2 separate regions of the Homo sapiens genome follow, and region 2 is linked to region 1. Evidence: promoter capture Hi-C in human tissues and cell types (Jung and others, 2019). All regions are on one chromosome and are shown on one strand. The core of a region is centred on a gene start or on the middle of the fragment in contact, and the rest is flanking DNA. Distances in the headings are between cores, read along the strand shown.

What was found. The method cuts DNA at HindIII sites, captures the fragments that hold promoters and counts their contacts. A contact is called where the count stands out against the background at its distance.
Region 2: a contact is called between a fragment that was not itself captured here and the fragment with the promoter of PRLR in region 1, in 1 of the 25 tissues and cell types used here (stomach).

Annotation. Positions count from the first base shown.
Region 1 is chr5:35,228,293-35,231,901 of GRCh38, forward strand. It overlaps PRLR (prolactin receptor), which reads right to left and starts at 2,195. Exons shown (of 10, transcript NM_000949.7): 1 at 1,976-2,195. The HindIII fragment of the contact is 8,302 bases long and covers 1-3,609 here.
Region 2 is chr5:35,085,421-35,088,747 of GRCh38, forward strand. It overlaps PRLR (prolactin receptor), which reads right to left. Exons shown (of 10, transcript NM_000949.7): 4 at 788-920. Among named protein-coding and RNA genes, the nearest start is that of AGXT2, 39 kb to the left of the region's middle. The HindIII fragment of the contact is 6,672 bases long and covers 1-3,327 here.

The sequences.
Region 1 (3,609 bases), core at 945-3,444:
TCAGGAAAACTCAGAGGCTTGCTCAGTGTGGGAGTCAAGATCTGAAGCCCAGTCTGTTGAGCTCCAAAGCCCTGTGTGTTTTCTGATGTGCCTTGCTGGCACTGCTAGTGGAACACCCAGGGTCCCCAGAGATGTGAGTCCTTAGTCCTCTAAAGGCAAAGTACAGAGGTTCAAAAGAATATGGCTGCCTACTCATACTATGCCTCAGGGAGCAAAGACTGCTTCATTTCCAAACAAAGCCTTGGCCTCCCTGCCATCCAGCTAGGTGACCTGAAGAGCACTCTGATTCAGACAGCGATCCTCTTTAGATGGCTCTCCAGGGTTGGTGGGACTGAAAATTCTAGGGGTAAGGACTGTCGCCTTAGGAGAGTCATTAAAAAGGGTTGTGAGGAGGGGTCCCCTGGAGTCAGAGGCTGGTAGAGCTCTGGAGAGAGCATGTGGGGAGCTCACCCATGACAGGGGAGCTGTCTCCTTCAGCAGCGTGGCTGACTCCAGACCCCCAAGAAGGCTGTGGATTACTCCCACAGTCAGCCCAACCAGCAGCAAGGAGTTGGCTGGGTGGTCTTGATACAGGAGGAGGAATAAGGGATTGTCACCTGGGATTCAGGCATGGCTTTCAGGGAGTATCCACAAACCCTCAGGGATTGCATGTAAAATTTTATGTACATGCCATATGCATTTTGCCCCAGGAAGAGGACTCACAGCTAATTCTCAAAAGGACCTATCACCCCTAATTTTTAAGAACCACTGAAATTAATATTTTCATCTGCTCCTCTCTTGCACTATTCAGCACTTCCACCTCATTAAACATTTATATATATATTATATATATTTCTATAATATATATATATAATTAATTAATTCCCTAAACTTTGCAGAAAAAAAATCGAAGCCCAGAGAGGGTAAGTATCTTGCCCAAGTTTGCACAGCTGATGGTCAGGATTGGGATTAGCAGCACTTCCCTGGTCAAGTGAAGCACGATTTCAGGTGGGAAATCTTGCCCGGTCAACTTGACAAATGAAGACAAAGTGATCCCTCCAGACTAATAATAATGTTTTGCAACCATTTTCAAGTCCAGTCATAGAATCCCCTACGTTGCTTGTTTTCAGGGCAGTGTGGGTTGCTTCCCCAGGATACAGGTAGAGGTCACTAAAAGGATAGTTTTCTACTCAAAGAGCCAGAACTCCAGCCCTTGCCTTCCCCTGCCGTAGCACTCGGGCCGGCCCTCCAGTTACCTGAGTTTGCCTGACTTTAACCAACTCCTCTTCCCTTCCCTCCTCCCTTCTCCAGCGGGCTCTCCTTCCAGCTTCCTCCCGGGCTGCAATTCCTCTGCCTAGGTGCCTCCGTCCAGCTCCGGCTTCTGGCCCGGAGGCTGCTCATCTGCCCCTACCCCCGCTGACTTTTGGGAGGAGCAACACCTTTCAGGTCAGCATTGCTAACCCTAAACTTTCCCCGCCGGATGCCCGCGAGGCTGCTGCGGCGGCGGCTGCTGCTGATGGGAGAGTCTCGAGTCCGGCTTTCATCACATCACCTGTCTGCGCCCCTTCCCCCTCCCCGCTCTTTTTTTCTTTTCTTTTTATTTTGACGCAAATAATTTGCATTCTGAGAATCCCACAATCAACGCCGAAACTCATGCTCAAGGATACAGGTGAAGATGCCTTTGACAAAGGCGAATGCGAGCCGAGTGCAGTTTGTAAAAGCTGGGGTTGGGGGCAGTGGTGGAGGCAAAGCACCTTAAGAGTATTTTTTAGCCCCTCTGAGAAGGGACATCCGGGCGGGAGGCGGGCGGATCCCGGGCTTCCCCGCCGGCTGCCGACTCTGGCTCCTGGCTGGCGTTCTCTCCAGGAGCCCGCGCCGGTGGCCCCGCTCTCCCCTTCAGCACGCGGGCCTCGAACCCGCATCCCGGAGAGCGGCCGCCCGCGCAGCCCCTGCCGCGCGCCGTCGGAGGCGGCCTCAGCTCGCCATGGGTACTCACTTTTGCCAGGGAGCAAAGTCTGCCACATCAGTCGATGAGTACTTCCTGCACGAGGACATGAAGCTCCATTGTGTGGAAAGCTGTTTCGCGAACGGTCGGTAAAATCCAGAAAGAGGGAGAAGGAGTGAGTAAGGCAGAAAGCCCAGCCCAGAAAACCGGCGTCTGGGGATTTCAGCCTCCGCTCCCCGGTCCCCAGCCCGGTGGCTCTGTGAGAAGAAGCTCAACTCGGTGCACTTGTTCACTCTTTCTTCATGAGAGGAGGAGTCAGTGTTGCAACATTTATGTTCCTTGCTGGAGGCAAAACAGTGATTTTCTTCAGCATGCAAAACGTCCAGAGCCTGCCAGTTTTAGAAGGCGACGGAGGTAGTTGGGGGAGCTGGAATCCTGCGAAGACCTGAAGAAACAACTGATTCCCCCCAGATCGGTTTTGCATGATTAGGGCCACATATCTTTCATTGAGACTGTACCAGAAAATAGACAGACAAAACAATAATAAAAATGACTTAGTGAGTTGAATGACCTCAAAGATGATATTTTTCCAGGCAGCCAAGATGTGGAGTGTCTCCGTGTCAAATTTCTTTCCTTATTTCTGAGTAACATTGAACAGCAGCTATATTTGAGAGGTTCTCCAGGGATTTGAATTGCACCTTGCCTGAGGAGTCAGATAGAAAGGAGCAAAAGAAGATAGTCAGTGACCTAAGAAGGTTTTGCTTTTTTTTTTTTTTAATACCCAAAGCGCAAACTTCTAGTGTGCTGTGTTTATTCTCTGCCATATGAATATAATAAACATTGGCGGTGCCTAAATAGCCCCACTTCTGTTGTTTTCCACAAATAAAGAATTTATCTTTTCTAATGGGCTGCATGTTGTTCTGACTTTTCTTCTTCTTGAAACCACACACAACCGCCTTTTCTCTTGCAAAAACAAAAACCCCACATTTAACAGTGCTGAAACAAATAATAGCACCTGCCTGAATCAAATAGTTATTTCTGACTATGTATGTTGCTGGTGTCATTTGATGCCATAATAATTAATGCATCCGATTGTTACACAACCCAGAGGGCCACCAAGGAAATACTTTAAACCAAGGTTACTGAGTTTTTTTTTTTGTTTGTTTTTGTTTGTTTTTTTGAGACAGAGTCTCGCTCTGTCGCTCAGGCTGGATTGCAGTGACCCCATCTCGGCTCACTGGAACCTCTGCCTCCTGGATTCAAGCAATTGTCCTGCTTCAGCCTCCCGAGTAGGTGGGACTACAGGCGCGTGCCACCATGTCCGGCTAGTTTTTTGTATTTTTAGTAGAGATGAGGTTTCACCCTGTTAGCCAGGATGGTCTTGATTTCCTGACCTCATGATCCACCCACCTTGGCCTCCTGAAGTGCTGGGATTACAGGCGTGAGCCACTGCGCCTGGCCGTTTTTTTTTTTGTTTTGTTTTAAGTTATTGAAACATGAGGCTTTCCCCTTTGATTTGACTGCTACTCTGGATAACTGGGAAATCACAGTTAGCAGTGAGCATTTGCCAAGCCACAGGAAGCCATTGAAAATCCCATGATGCTTTGGTGATCCTTTTGGACTGGAATCCCAGAAGCAACTACCTAGGCATAATAACCTAATACTTCCTGATCAATAACACGTCC
Region 2 (3,327 bases), core at 359-2,858, 140 kb before region 1:
GCAGCTCTCCCATGATTTTCAGGAGGGTCTCACTGTCAGCGTAACAAAATGCTTGCACAGAGATGATCTGGTTTAGCCCTCATTTCAACCTTAGGTCCCAATATGTCTTCTAGGAGATGGTGGCTCTTGGATGAGCAATGTGCTAAGGAAAAAACCTCACCTTCTTTTCCCTACAAGGTTCTTTATTTTCTTGAACATGAAACAAGTTTGAAAACCTAATATACCACATTTGTCAAGGATTGTATGGTACCACTTCACACGATCCTACTTATTTTGCAAAAGTGACATGTTTAGTTAAAAAAAATACAAATGGCATAAGAATTATAGATGAGCATTTAAGATTAACTAGCAATTAAGAAACACTTCTATGGGGCCTCAGGCTGCAACCTAAGCTGTGAGAGGGGATTTGAAACATTACATCAATATTGGGTCCATTTAACCATTTGACCCTTCTGCTGGTGACAGAAACAGATTGATGGGACCCAAGCAAGTGATGAAGTCTCAGGGTGAGGAGACCTAGGGTGGATGCTCAGAAATGCCAAGCATCAGCATCCAGTAACACTGATATTGTACTGCTATGGCTGGTAACCTTATGTATATTGACACAGCTCTTAACAGACATTAACAGGAGAATGTGGGCATGGACCTTAGACTCCCCTTTCCCCGGTGGTATGAACCTTACTGGTGTAAATTCAGGGATGTGCTGTCACTCAGAACCAGTGTTTCTTTGGCCTGGAGAATGGGAGTACTCATGTGGGGTTTCATAGGAGAGAAGGGAACTTCTTACCCTTCCCTGTGGTAAGTCAGTGAATAATTGGTAGGAAGTCCTCCATCTGTCCCAGGCCTCCACCAGCAGGTGAATGTTTCCTTATTGGGAGAACGACATTTAAAGATCTCAGGTTTTCCAGGAGGTAACTGTCCTAGAAAAAGCCAGAAGCCACTGCATCAATATTGAGGTCCATTTAACCATTTGACCCTTCTGCTGGTGACAGAAACAGATTGATGGACCAAAGCCAGCGATGAAGTCTCAGGCTGAGGAGACCTAGGGTGGATGCTCAGGAATGCCAAGCATCAGCATCCAGCAACACTCCTCTGTGGGCTGCCCTGATGTTGGCATTGCTCTTAGAGAGCATTTTGCTGGTGTGTGTGTGTGTGTGTGTGTGTGTGTCTGTGTACTTTGAGATGGAGATAACAATAGCCTAGTGACCAACTGCAAAATTTCAACAAAGAATGAGCCTTGAATGCAAGATAGACACATATTGGTTGAAGAGTGTGTGGTGGCCCTTTTGTAATCCCACAAGGTCTGTAAAGCTGATACCCTCCCTCAGCCTAAGGGAACCATACAAAGAATCCTTCCCAGGTATGAGCAATCCGCAGACACTCTGGCAAAACACCGCTCTATGGCACTTCTCCACTCAGCTCACCAATCTCCATCTTTCTGCCATCCCCACACAATGAACTCAACTTGTTCCTGATCTTCTGTCCGTTCACTACATCGCTAAAGCTCCCTGTATCTGGGCATCCTTTCCTTCCTCTTTCCCCATCTTCTCCTTTCCTTCCCCTTTCCCTTCACTTTTTCTTGATTTTTTTTGGGATGGAGTCTCACTCTATCGCCCAGGCTGGAGTGCAGTGGTGCGATCTTGGCTCACTGCAACCTCCACCTCCTGGGTTCAAGCAATTCTGCCTCAGCCTCCTGAGCAGCTGGGATTACAGGTGCACACCACCACACCCGGCTAAGTTTTTGTATTTTTAGTAGAAATGGGGTTTCACCATGTTGGTCAGGCTGGTCTTGAACTCCTGACCTCGTGCTCTGCCCACCTTGGCCTCCCAAACTGCTGGGATTAAAGGCATGAGCTACTGCACCTGGCCACTTTTCCTTGATTTTATTCAGCTTTGATCTTGTGACCCAGACTCACAGTCTGTCTCCTCATCCACCCCATCCCCATTTCTGAATCTTGGTTTTTAGTCCTTTTTTTTCTCTTAGATTTTCCTCTCTTTCCTTTGTGTGTGTGTGTGTGTGTGTGTGTGTGTGTGTGTGGTGAGGTTGCAAAGGGCTTCCTTTGGATACGTAGGGCTTCAAGAGTGTGTGGCCCTTTTGTAATCCCATAGGGTCTATAAAACTATAATTTGATGGATCTTTTTGGGGTAGGAGGTGTGGTAAGAGGTAGGAGAGTAGCCAGCTCCTCTCCTGGTTCTGAGCAACCACTGTTATCTAAGAGCTGTACCCAGTTCCAGACTGGATGCTAGAAGGTCTCAGTGAGGTGGTGTGAAAATATAACACCAAGAGTGTAAAATTTTTTAGTTGCCAAATCCCCAAAGCTCTTGGCAAGCGGGCTCCCATTTCTCTTGCTTGGATGTCAGGTTCAAAGAGGGACAGCAGAGCCCTGGGAATTTGCCCTGATACTGTGGGGCTGGGAAGCCACCATGCTCGCCTACATGACTTCAGCTGATCCTCTTTTTTGTCTAGCTGGATGCCCTAGCATTGAGTTTAGGATATCAGGAGCAGAGAGGAGCGCTTTCAGATATGGGTCAGCACCTCCGGGGGTTCTCTCTGTTTTCTCCTCTACCCCTCATGCAGGCTCCAAGGCCAGAGTTTCTAGCTGAGCACCAGAGCAGAAACAGCAGGTTAGGAGGAGACCTCAGTGAGGAGAAATGCGTGGGAAGAGGATTCTCTAGGCAGAGCTGGCCAGAAAGAGGAATTTAGTGGAATGGCATGCTGTGGGACACAGGCTGGAGCCCAGGACACCAGGCTAGTAGTGTCAGCTGAAACTCACCTACCCTCCTGCTCACAGGCCCTGCTAAAACCCGTCCTTGCCAGCCCGGGTCAGCTCTGCCAATATTTGTAACATTGCTCATCCTCTAGGAACAATTTATTCAGGATAATGTGTTGCTGGGAGTTACAGCAAGAATGCAAGTTTTTGTTTTGCTTTGCTTTTGTCATGAGTGGGGAGAAGTGTGTGAAGTAGAAAGAAAAGTTTATTTAAAAAGTTTAAAGCCTATGGTTCCATAATGAGCACACTCGGAAGCCAATTAGGGTGATCATTGATTTCTTGAGTATTTAGTTTCTCTTGTGGGTCATTCTGACCTCTGCTTTCCCCTTTTTCTCTCTCTGAAAGCTTCTCTTTCTTATTTTACTGTTTATTAATAGTACCTTCAGGAAGCTCAAGAGAGGAGGGTAGATTTGTAAAATTACAATTAGACAAATGTTTCCTTCATCTGCATTAGAGGAACAAGTTAACATTAATGGACTTTCTCAATGCACAGAAACACGGAGAAAACCACACAGGAACCACATATACAGGTATGTAGATGCCCACACAGAGCCCG